Regions from separate parts of the Homo sapiens genome. Here regions 2 and 3 are each linked to region 1. Evidence: promoter capture Hi-C in 16 types of primary human blood cells and fetal thymus (Javierre and others, 2016). All regions are on one chromosome and are shown on one strand. Each heading gives the region's core, a stretch centred on a gene start or on the middle of the fragment in contact. The rest is flanking DNA. Distances are from core to core; before and after follow the strand shown. Region 1 holds the start of FBXL17 (F-box and leucine rich repeat protein 17). Region 2 overlaps SLC25A46 (solute carrier family 25 member 46). Region 3 has its middle 2.7 kb from the start of TMEM232.

Evidence for each region. The method cuts DNA at HindIII sites, captures the fragments that hold promoters and counts their contacts. A CHiCAGO score of 5 or more calls a contact.
Region 2: a contact is called between a fragment that was not itself captured here and the fragment with the promoter of FBXL17 in region 1, in 3 of 17 cell types (total CD4 T cells, fetal thymus and naive B cells). The highest score is 6.9, in total CD4 T cells.
Region 3: a contact is called between a fragment that was not itself captured here and the fragment with the promoter of FBXL17 in region 1, in 1 of 17 cell types (monocytes). The highest score is 6.1, in monocytes.

What each region holds. Positions count from the first base shown.
Region 1 is chr5:108,380,774-108,383,474 of GRCh38, forward strand. It overlaps FBXL17 (F-box and leucine rich repeat protein 17), which reads right to left and starts at 1,325. Exons shown (of 9, transcript NM_001163315.3): 1 at 1-1,325. The coding sequence starts at 918. RefSeq lists silencers at 176-255, 276-1,025, 1,226-1,475 and an enhancer at 1,576-1,695. The HindIII fragment of the contact is 13,285 bases long and covers 1-2,701 here.
Region 2 is chr5:110,744,854-110,747,554 of GRCh38, forward strand. SLC25A46 (solute carrier family 25 member 46) reads left to right here. Exons shown (of 8, transcript NM_138773.4): 4 at 1,416-1,493. Among named protein-coding and RNA genes, the nearest start is that of SLC25A46, 7.2 kb to the left of the region's middle. The HindIII fragment of the contact is 6,336 bases long and covers 1-2,701 here.
Region 3 is chr5:110,727,977-110,730,677 of GRCh38, forward strand. It overlaps a transcript of TMEM232 not described here. Among named protein-coding and RNA genes, the nearest start is that of TMEM232, 2.7 kb to the left of the region's middle. The HindIII fragment of the contact is 1,678 bases long and covers 494-2,171 here.

The DNA.
Region 1 (2,701 bases), core at 75-2,574:
GTTTTCGGGGGACTCCCGACAGTCCGCGTCGCCACATTCATGCTGCTGCTGGGCGGACAAGGGGGCGGTGCCCCCGGCTCGGACAGCGTCCCCGCCAGCTTCGGTGGGGGCACCTTCGGAGGTGGGAGAAGAGGGCGGAGGGCAGAGCGGCTGCGGGGGCTGCTCCGGGGCCTGGCAGCAGCCGGCGTCGGGGGGCCGGGGCGGCGAAGCGCCTCCCCCCGCAGGCCCTCCCCCGCCACCGCCGCCGCCGCCGCCGCCGCAGCCCCCGCCGCCGCAGCGGGGCTGCTTGCAGGGGGTGCAGGCGGGGACCCCGGCCCCCTTCCGCTTGCACACCATTTCGGGGGGCGTAGGGAGCTCGGCCGGTGACGGTGTCGGCCCCCGGAAGAGCTGCACGGCGGCGGGCGGCCCCAGGAAGCGCACCGGCCCCAAGCTGGCCAGGAAGAGACTTCGGCCCTGCTGCTCCCAGGCGGCGGCCGCAGCCAGCCCCAACTCTTTGCAGCAGGAGGCGGGCGACGAAGCCGAGGCGGCAGCGGCGGCGGCGGCGGCGGCCGAGGATAGCAGGAAGCGGCGGGCAGCAGCGGCGCAGTCCTCGGCGGCCAGGGCCGCGTAGCGCCGCGCCAGGTGCTGAGAGGAGGAGGCGGCAGCGTAGGCCCCGTCCCGCGGCGGCGGCGAGAGCGGCGGCTCCTCCTCTGGGCCGGCGGGGGCGGGCGCGCCGGGACTGTGCACGATGAAGCAGAGCATGCAGGGCCCGCGGAAGAAGCAGTCCCGGCTCCGGGGCGCCGCCGGCTGAGGGGGCACCTTGGCTGGGGTCCGGCGGGGCAGCCTGAGGAGAGGGCGCCGGCGGCGGCACCAACTGCAACAGCGAGGCCTCTTCTGGCTCGGGCGGTTACGCGGCTCCTTCGAGAGAAGGTGGCCCATATAGAAGGCCCCGAGGAGGGGGACCGGGACGGGAGGGAGGGAGACCCAGAGAGGCGGGCTCCCGGCAGCGGGGCAGGCCGCTCGCTGGCTCGGCCCCCGGAGGGGTCGCCCTTCCTGCGCACACACACGCACACACGGGCACACACGCGACGGTGGGGGGTGGGCGTCAGCTGCGGGCCGCCGGAGTGCCCGACGGGGGCTACATGCTTTGCCCAGGGAAGCCGGGAGAACGATGGGCGCGAGCTTTGGGGACGCGAGGGAGGGAGCGAGCGAGCCTGCCGGCTAGGCGACCAGTCCGGGCCCGGCCAGCCGGCTCAGTCAGTCAGCGGAGCGGCCGGGGAAAGGCCGGGTCCCGCTCGGACCATTTTAACTGCGGATCCGCCGCCGGCGCGCGCACCCGCGACTCTGCTCGGAGCCGCAGGAGCGCGCGGCCCGTTCCGGCAGGGGGCGGAGCCAGTTGCGGTGGCGCGCTCGTGGCGGGGACGCCGGCACCCGGCTGCTCACCCGGGACGGCCGTCACACCGGCACTACGGGAAGAAGCCGGCCGGCTAGGGCACGGAGCTCTGGGCTTGCGGGGTGCGGCGCACGCCCCTCCCTCCCACCGCCTAAGGTTTTTCCGAAGCTGCTGGGCGTGCGCCGCGTTTCTGAGGCGGGAGGAGACACTTCCGAGCCAGCTGTGTGACATCCGTTTACACAGCCGCGCTGACGTCTCGAGGTGTAAGTTCAAGAGCTGCCATTGGCCGGGAGCCGCTGGGCTCTTCCCCTCACCTTCCACCCCTGTCACCACCCCTGACTCGGAAACCGAGGCCACTTCGAAGCCGCGAGGCGGGTTCCGCCGGAAGGGCCAGTGTGGGCGCTGACCGCGCTTCGGGCAGAGTGGCAGATGCGGCCCCTGGGTGATGCGCACCGAAGTCATGTGAGGGGTTGATTGGTTGTGCGGCACCACTGTTTACCCACTTGTGTTTTCTTAATTGTTGCGTACTACTGCCTTTCCACAACTTTATTTCAGAATGAAAGCATATATCAAATTACCTGTGCACAGCAGAAAGATAACAGCTTCCCCACCCAGTGAGCCATTCAACACCCAGGCTACAAACTGTAGATCACTTTATTGTCTACACCCTCGGAATCCTGTCTAGCCGTCTGTTGTATATTTTAAACATGACGGTGCAGTGCCTGCTATATGACAAACGTTGGTGATCCAGATGAGAAAGAGGAAACAGCTATGCAGGCAGTCCTTTAGAAGGTTTGACTATATCGAGGCTAAAGAGCTAGGGCAGCTGCTAGAGCGGTACCTGGTGCGGAGAGGTTAGCTTTCACAAGCGAAAAATTAGAGGAGGCAAATACCATGGGAATGAGCCACTCTAGTGAGAGAAATAAGAGGAGAAGGTGGAATGGAGAGTGCTTTAGGAAGGATACTTTCTTCATTGTGATTACAGAGAATGAGGAAAGGTAGATAAAGGACGGATACAGAGAGGTGGATGTTTCTAGCAGGAAGGTGAAAGAGTTCCTTTCTGTTGGTTTCTGTTTTGCTTCAGATAGAGCTTGGTTACCTGCTGAAGGGTGGAAGAGAAGTGGCAGGTGTTTAAAAAAAAATCTGCTAAGGATAACTTGAGAGAGCTGACTGAGGAAGAAGTATTGCAATATTCAAGGCCCAGTGGCTTGGAGAAGACCACTGTTGGAACCTACATTGCTATTCCCACTATAGTGGCCAGCCCCACCCAGCCTGCTCTCAAACATGCTGTCAAACAATTGTTAATTCTGGCCTTTTTGTCAGAAATGA
Region 2 (2,701 bases), core at 130-2,629, 2.4 Mb after region 1:
ACAGCAATCTTACTTCCTTATGTAACACACAGGATATTAATTAGAAAGAGGATGTGTACTCAAAGGTCAAGGATTCATAAAATTAACATTTTGTTACTTCATTGTCAAGGATATTACTATATGAAGGTTGCTTTTTTCTCTCTATGGGTAAATGAGGTGAAAAATTACTGTAAGTACGAAAATACAGTTTGATGGTGCTGCCTCAATTTGTGCTAATGAGCTGGGAGTTTTACCTACCATTGCTTTTGTACCATTAGTGAAAATGTCAAGACAGTGAAAAAAGGAAATTATATCTTAGTAATCACTAGGAAAATAATTTTGAACTTGTCAAGCCCCTGAAAGGGTAATGGGGCCCTCAGGAGTCAGTGGACCCCACTTGCAAACTCTGTTATAACCCACTTTTTTTTTTTGTTTGTTTGAGACGGAGTCTCGCTCTGTTGCCCAAACTGGAGTGCAGTGGCATGATCTCGGCTCACTGCAAACTCCGCCTCCTGGGTTCACGCCATTCTCCTGCCTCAGCCTCCCGAGTAGCTGGGACTACAGGAGCCCGCCACCGTGCCCAGCTAATTTTTTGTATTTTTAGTAGAGACGGGGTTTCATCGTGTTAGCCAGGATGGTCTCGATCTCCTGACCTCATGATCCGCCCGCCTCAGCCTCCCAAAGTGGTGGGATTACAGGTGTGAGCCACTGCGCCCGTCCTGTTATAACCCACTTTCTCTGTAAAGTAATGCTTCCTGTATTTGTTAGCTGTTAGAGTTCAAAACAGTATAAATCATTATAAATTAATCTGTTCATGCTTAGCACTGAAAAGTATGTATACAGAAATACCATTAAAGTAGCATTGACTGTATGTGCCACAGAACAGTGTATTTCAGATATATATTTTACATTGTAGTAATATTAACATGGAGATCCAATGGATACATTACATATAAGTAACAAATATATTATTTTTAAATGTTTTATGAAATAATACCATTAGAATGTAATACATTCTAATATTTTATTGTTTCACATAATAAATATTGTTTTGACACTCCCCCAGTTGATTTCATATACCAGTCAGTTGCCAAGTACAGTTTGAAAAATGCTTGCCTAAAATGAACATGAGTTGGGAGATGTAATTCAGTTGTTTAAGGCAAACCAAATATCAAATAAGACCCTCTTTATTATATAGTCTACAGTACTGTGTGTATTATGCATTGGTCTTCAGATTGTATTTATATAACCATACATACTGTACTTTTAATAGGTTATTTAAAGCACTTTTAAGAGTAATTTTGCTTATGTGTAATTTATGTTGACTTTGGAATTAACTTTTGTTTATACTGCAATTCCACCATATTTCTTTCATGGCTCTGTTATTTCTTGACAAAACATTAACAGAAAAAAATAATGAAATATCTTTTTTACAGGTTAATTACCATGCTCAGCATTACCATCTCACTCCATTTACAGTCATCAATATTATGTACAGTTTCAACAAAACTCAGGTGAGAATTTTGTCTGGATTCTATTAAAGGTTTATATAAGTGTCATTTGGGTTTAGTAATCATTAAAGCAAGAATAATTACTTTCAGTTTGGTCAATAAAACATCTTAACTGTTGTAGTAAAACTAAAGTAGCACAACGATATGTTTTTGAATCTTTCAAAATGTAATTTAGCAAAAGTACAATTTAATTTAGCAAAACCACAAAGAGCTGTGCTAAGATGATGTCTCTGCTATCAAGAGGCTCATATTTATTCATGGAGACAAAATCTTTGAAGATTGTGCTGCAGTAAGATAAAGGCAATATTAGAAGTACAGAATGCTGTCAGAATACAAAAGAGAAGTACCTTATCAAAACTGGGCTTGGGCACAGTGTATGGCTGGGAAAAACTTTGGGAAAAGAAAGGCCCGAATTGTGTGCTTCTTGTTGAGAAGTCTGACTCTTCATGATGAGGATAGAGAAAAGGTTTTTAAAGTAGACGTGTGAAGGCAGAAGACAAAGAGAGATCATAATGTTTGGGAATGGATTTAATGGAGTACAATGGGAGCTTGAAGTGGGGGTTGAAGAGTAAGAGAAAGATGAAAAAGTAGCCAGAGAAGTAAGCAGGATCCAGATTCTAAAGCACCTTCTAAGAACTGCACACTACTAGATCTTAAAAGCTACAAGAGTACTGTTGAAGGTGTTTTAGCCATGACCAAAATATCTTGAAGACCTTTGGATTGTTTGGCAATATCTATTAAAATTTAAAATGTACATGTTCTTTCACTTCCAGGAACTTATCCCACATAGATGTGCACATATATATGCAAAAATATATATACAAGGATGTCCTATGACATTGCATATAATAGACTGGAAATGATTAAATGTCCATCACTAGGGTACCAGTGAAATAATTATGGTATATTATGGTGAAACACCTTGTAACCTTTAAAAATAAGAGGGTAGCTCTGTGTATACTAATGTGGAATGATCTCCAGGATATTTTTTATGTTTCAAGATAATACTACCTGTTAAAAATAAGCAAAACAAAAATATTTCTATAACATACACACACAGATATACTTGTATATGCATGGATTATCCCGATAAATTTTAAAACTGCTGCTGAGGACTGGGATGAAAAGGAGACAGACTTTTCAGCTGATACCCTATTGCTTCTTTTTAATTCTATCATGTATATCTATTAATAATATAGATAATATAGATA
Region 3 (2,701 bases), core at 83-2,582, 2.3 Mb after region 1:
TTAATTTCAAGAGATCTAGAAAAGTGTTAAAAGCATAAAAAAATACAAACTGTTAACCAGGTTATTCATAATCAAATGAAGATTGAATTAAAAAGGAATAAAAGGAAGGCCGAATAAAAAATTCTTCTCCATAATATAAGAATCAGTTGAAACTATAGCATGTTTAGAGAAAAAAAGTCACCCCATCGATTCTACAGTGAAGACAACAGAACAAGTTTATATAAGGAAGAATTCACAAATACATATATATATATATTACACATATCTACTTATTCTAAATATATCTACTGATTTTATATATGTATCTACTGATTTTATTTATATATATATCAGTAGAATGAAAGATTACAGAAAAAGCATAAAATTTATATATGATAAATTTGCCATTTTAACTCAGTGGGGAAAAACTGTACAGAGGCTGAGCACAATTTGAAAGAAAATAAATCTGAACTACTATCTCATACCATAGCAACAATAAATCTCAGAGGAATGAAGCTTAAAACAGGAAATAATTTTAAATAATTTTAAGATAATATTGGTATAACCTTAGAGTCACAATAATATTAAGCTAATAGGAGACCCACAATGATTTTAAAAAATGACAAGAATATTTAGAAAATTTATGTAAGAAAAATAAATCTAATAAAGTCATACCTCCCCTTTCTCCCTTTAATTAGTCATCTACATTGAAGTTTTGACAAGACAAATCTAATTTTTTCAAATTATTATATATATACCTATATATATATAATCCTAAAATGGCCATTAATTAGCAATTAGGAAAATAAGCATGTCAAAACCATCCTAACCCCTTAGTATGGCACAATTATGCTTTCAGAAACTATATCATTGCCTACTTGCCCAGTTTTTTTCTGCTTTTTTTTTTTTTACCAGTCTTTTTTATTTTATTTTATTATTATTTTTTGAGATGAAGTCTCGCTTTTGTCCCCCAGGCTGGAGTGCAATGGAGCGATCTCAGCTCATTGCAACCTCCACCTCCTGGGTTCAAGCGATTCTCCTGCCTCAGCCTCCCGAGTACCTGGGATTACAGGCGCCTGCCACCACGCCTGGGTAATTTTTGTATTTTTGGTAGAGACAGGGTTTCACCATGTTGGCCAGGCTGATCTCGAACTCCTGACCTCAGGTAATCCACCCACCTTGGCATCCCAAAGTGCTGGGATTAAAGGCGTGAGCCACCGTGCCTGGCCCAGTCTTCTTTATTTTTAAAACTTTTTCCACTGCTATGTAATCAATTAAAAAATATTTTAAGTTTCCTAAACATATCATGAGCTCTCGTTTCTTAATAACCTCATGCATGCTCTTCCTCTGTCTGAAAATATACTTGCCCACTCACTCCTCAACTGCTGCCACAAACTCACACAAACGCATACCACCCCCTGCTCCCTAATAACCACACACCAGGTAAATGCTTACTCTTGATCAAGACTCGGATGTTAGACATTTGTCAACATTTTGGATCTGGAGAATCCAATCACCCTTCCATGCTACCTGGGGAATTCTTCATGTAATATGAATGGGAAGTGGTGTTTCATCATCCACTACAAAAGCCAAAAACGGCAGATTATATTTTCTCAGAACTCTGTGTTGGAATATGACAGAAGTTTGGCCAAGTATGTGTTCTAGTTTAAGAATTTGAATTTTTAGCAGATAATATCAAGATGAAAGTAGCAATAACTGTGCCTTGGGCCATGATAGCAGCACCCTTACAGATTTTCCTGCCAAAAGACAGTTGTGGTACCTCCTGCTTCTTGGTCCTCTAGAACAGCATTTTTTTTTCCTGTCCATTTCAATCCTTGACTTACAGCCTTCCATCAATTCTATAAACCCTGATTATCCTGTCAAATCTTCTGTTTAAAGTAACAAATTGAGTTTCTGTTATCTTCAACCAAAGTGACACATTCACCTGGGAAGACACCTCATTTTAGAAGCCTTCCAACGCAATGACTGTTCTCTCAGGATAACTTAGAAGACATCCTTCAATGTTTCCTTAGCATTCTGAGTGCTCTTATATAGCACTTATCAAAATTTTACCTAGAGAAATCTACCTAGTGAGTACTCATTAAAAAGTCAGGAAAGAGATGAAACTATTAGTAAGTTACACAATTTAAAATATGCATTATATTTTCTTCAATCATATTTCTCAAACCTTAAGCTTCAGTCCTCCAGTTGCTTGGAATCAAGGCTATTAGCATCTTCACTGACACGATTCAAATTAGTCCATAATACTGCAATTACCTTCCTAGATTAGAATTGATTTTCCAGGGAAAACAATCTGACACCAAAAGTGAATCATAGGAAAAAACTATAGCCATGAAAAAATATTTATCAGTTTGAACTGTTGCATTAGAATTAATATTGATTTTGTAATTTAACAACTTTCTAGATGACAATTTCTTAACTATTTTTGATATTATGTGATATCAGTTTAGTTTTGCCATGGAGTGTATAACTTAATTGTAAATAATTTCTATTTGATACTGTATTAGTTTGTTTTCATGCTGCTGATAAGTACATACCCAAAACTGGGAACAAAATGAGGTTTAATTGGACTTACAGTTCCACATGGCTAGGGAGGCCTCAGAATCATGGCGGGAGGTGAAAGGCACTTCTTACATGGTGAAAGCAAGATAAAAATGAGGAGGAAGTAAAAGCAGAAACCCCTGATAAACCCATTAGATCT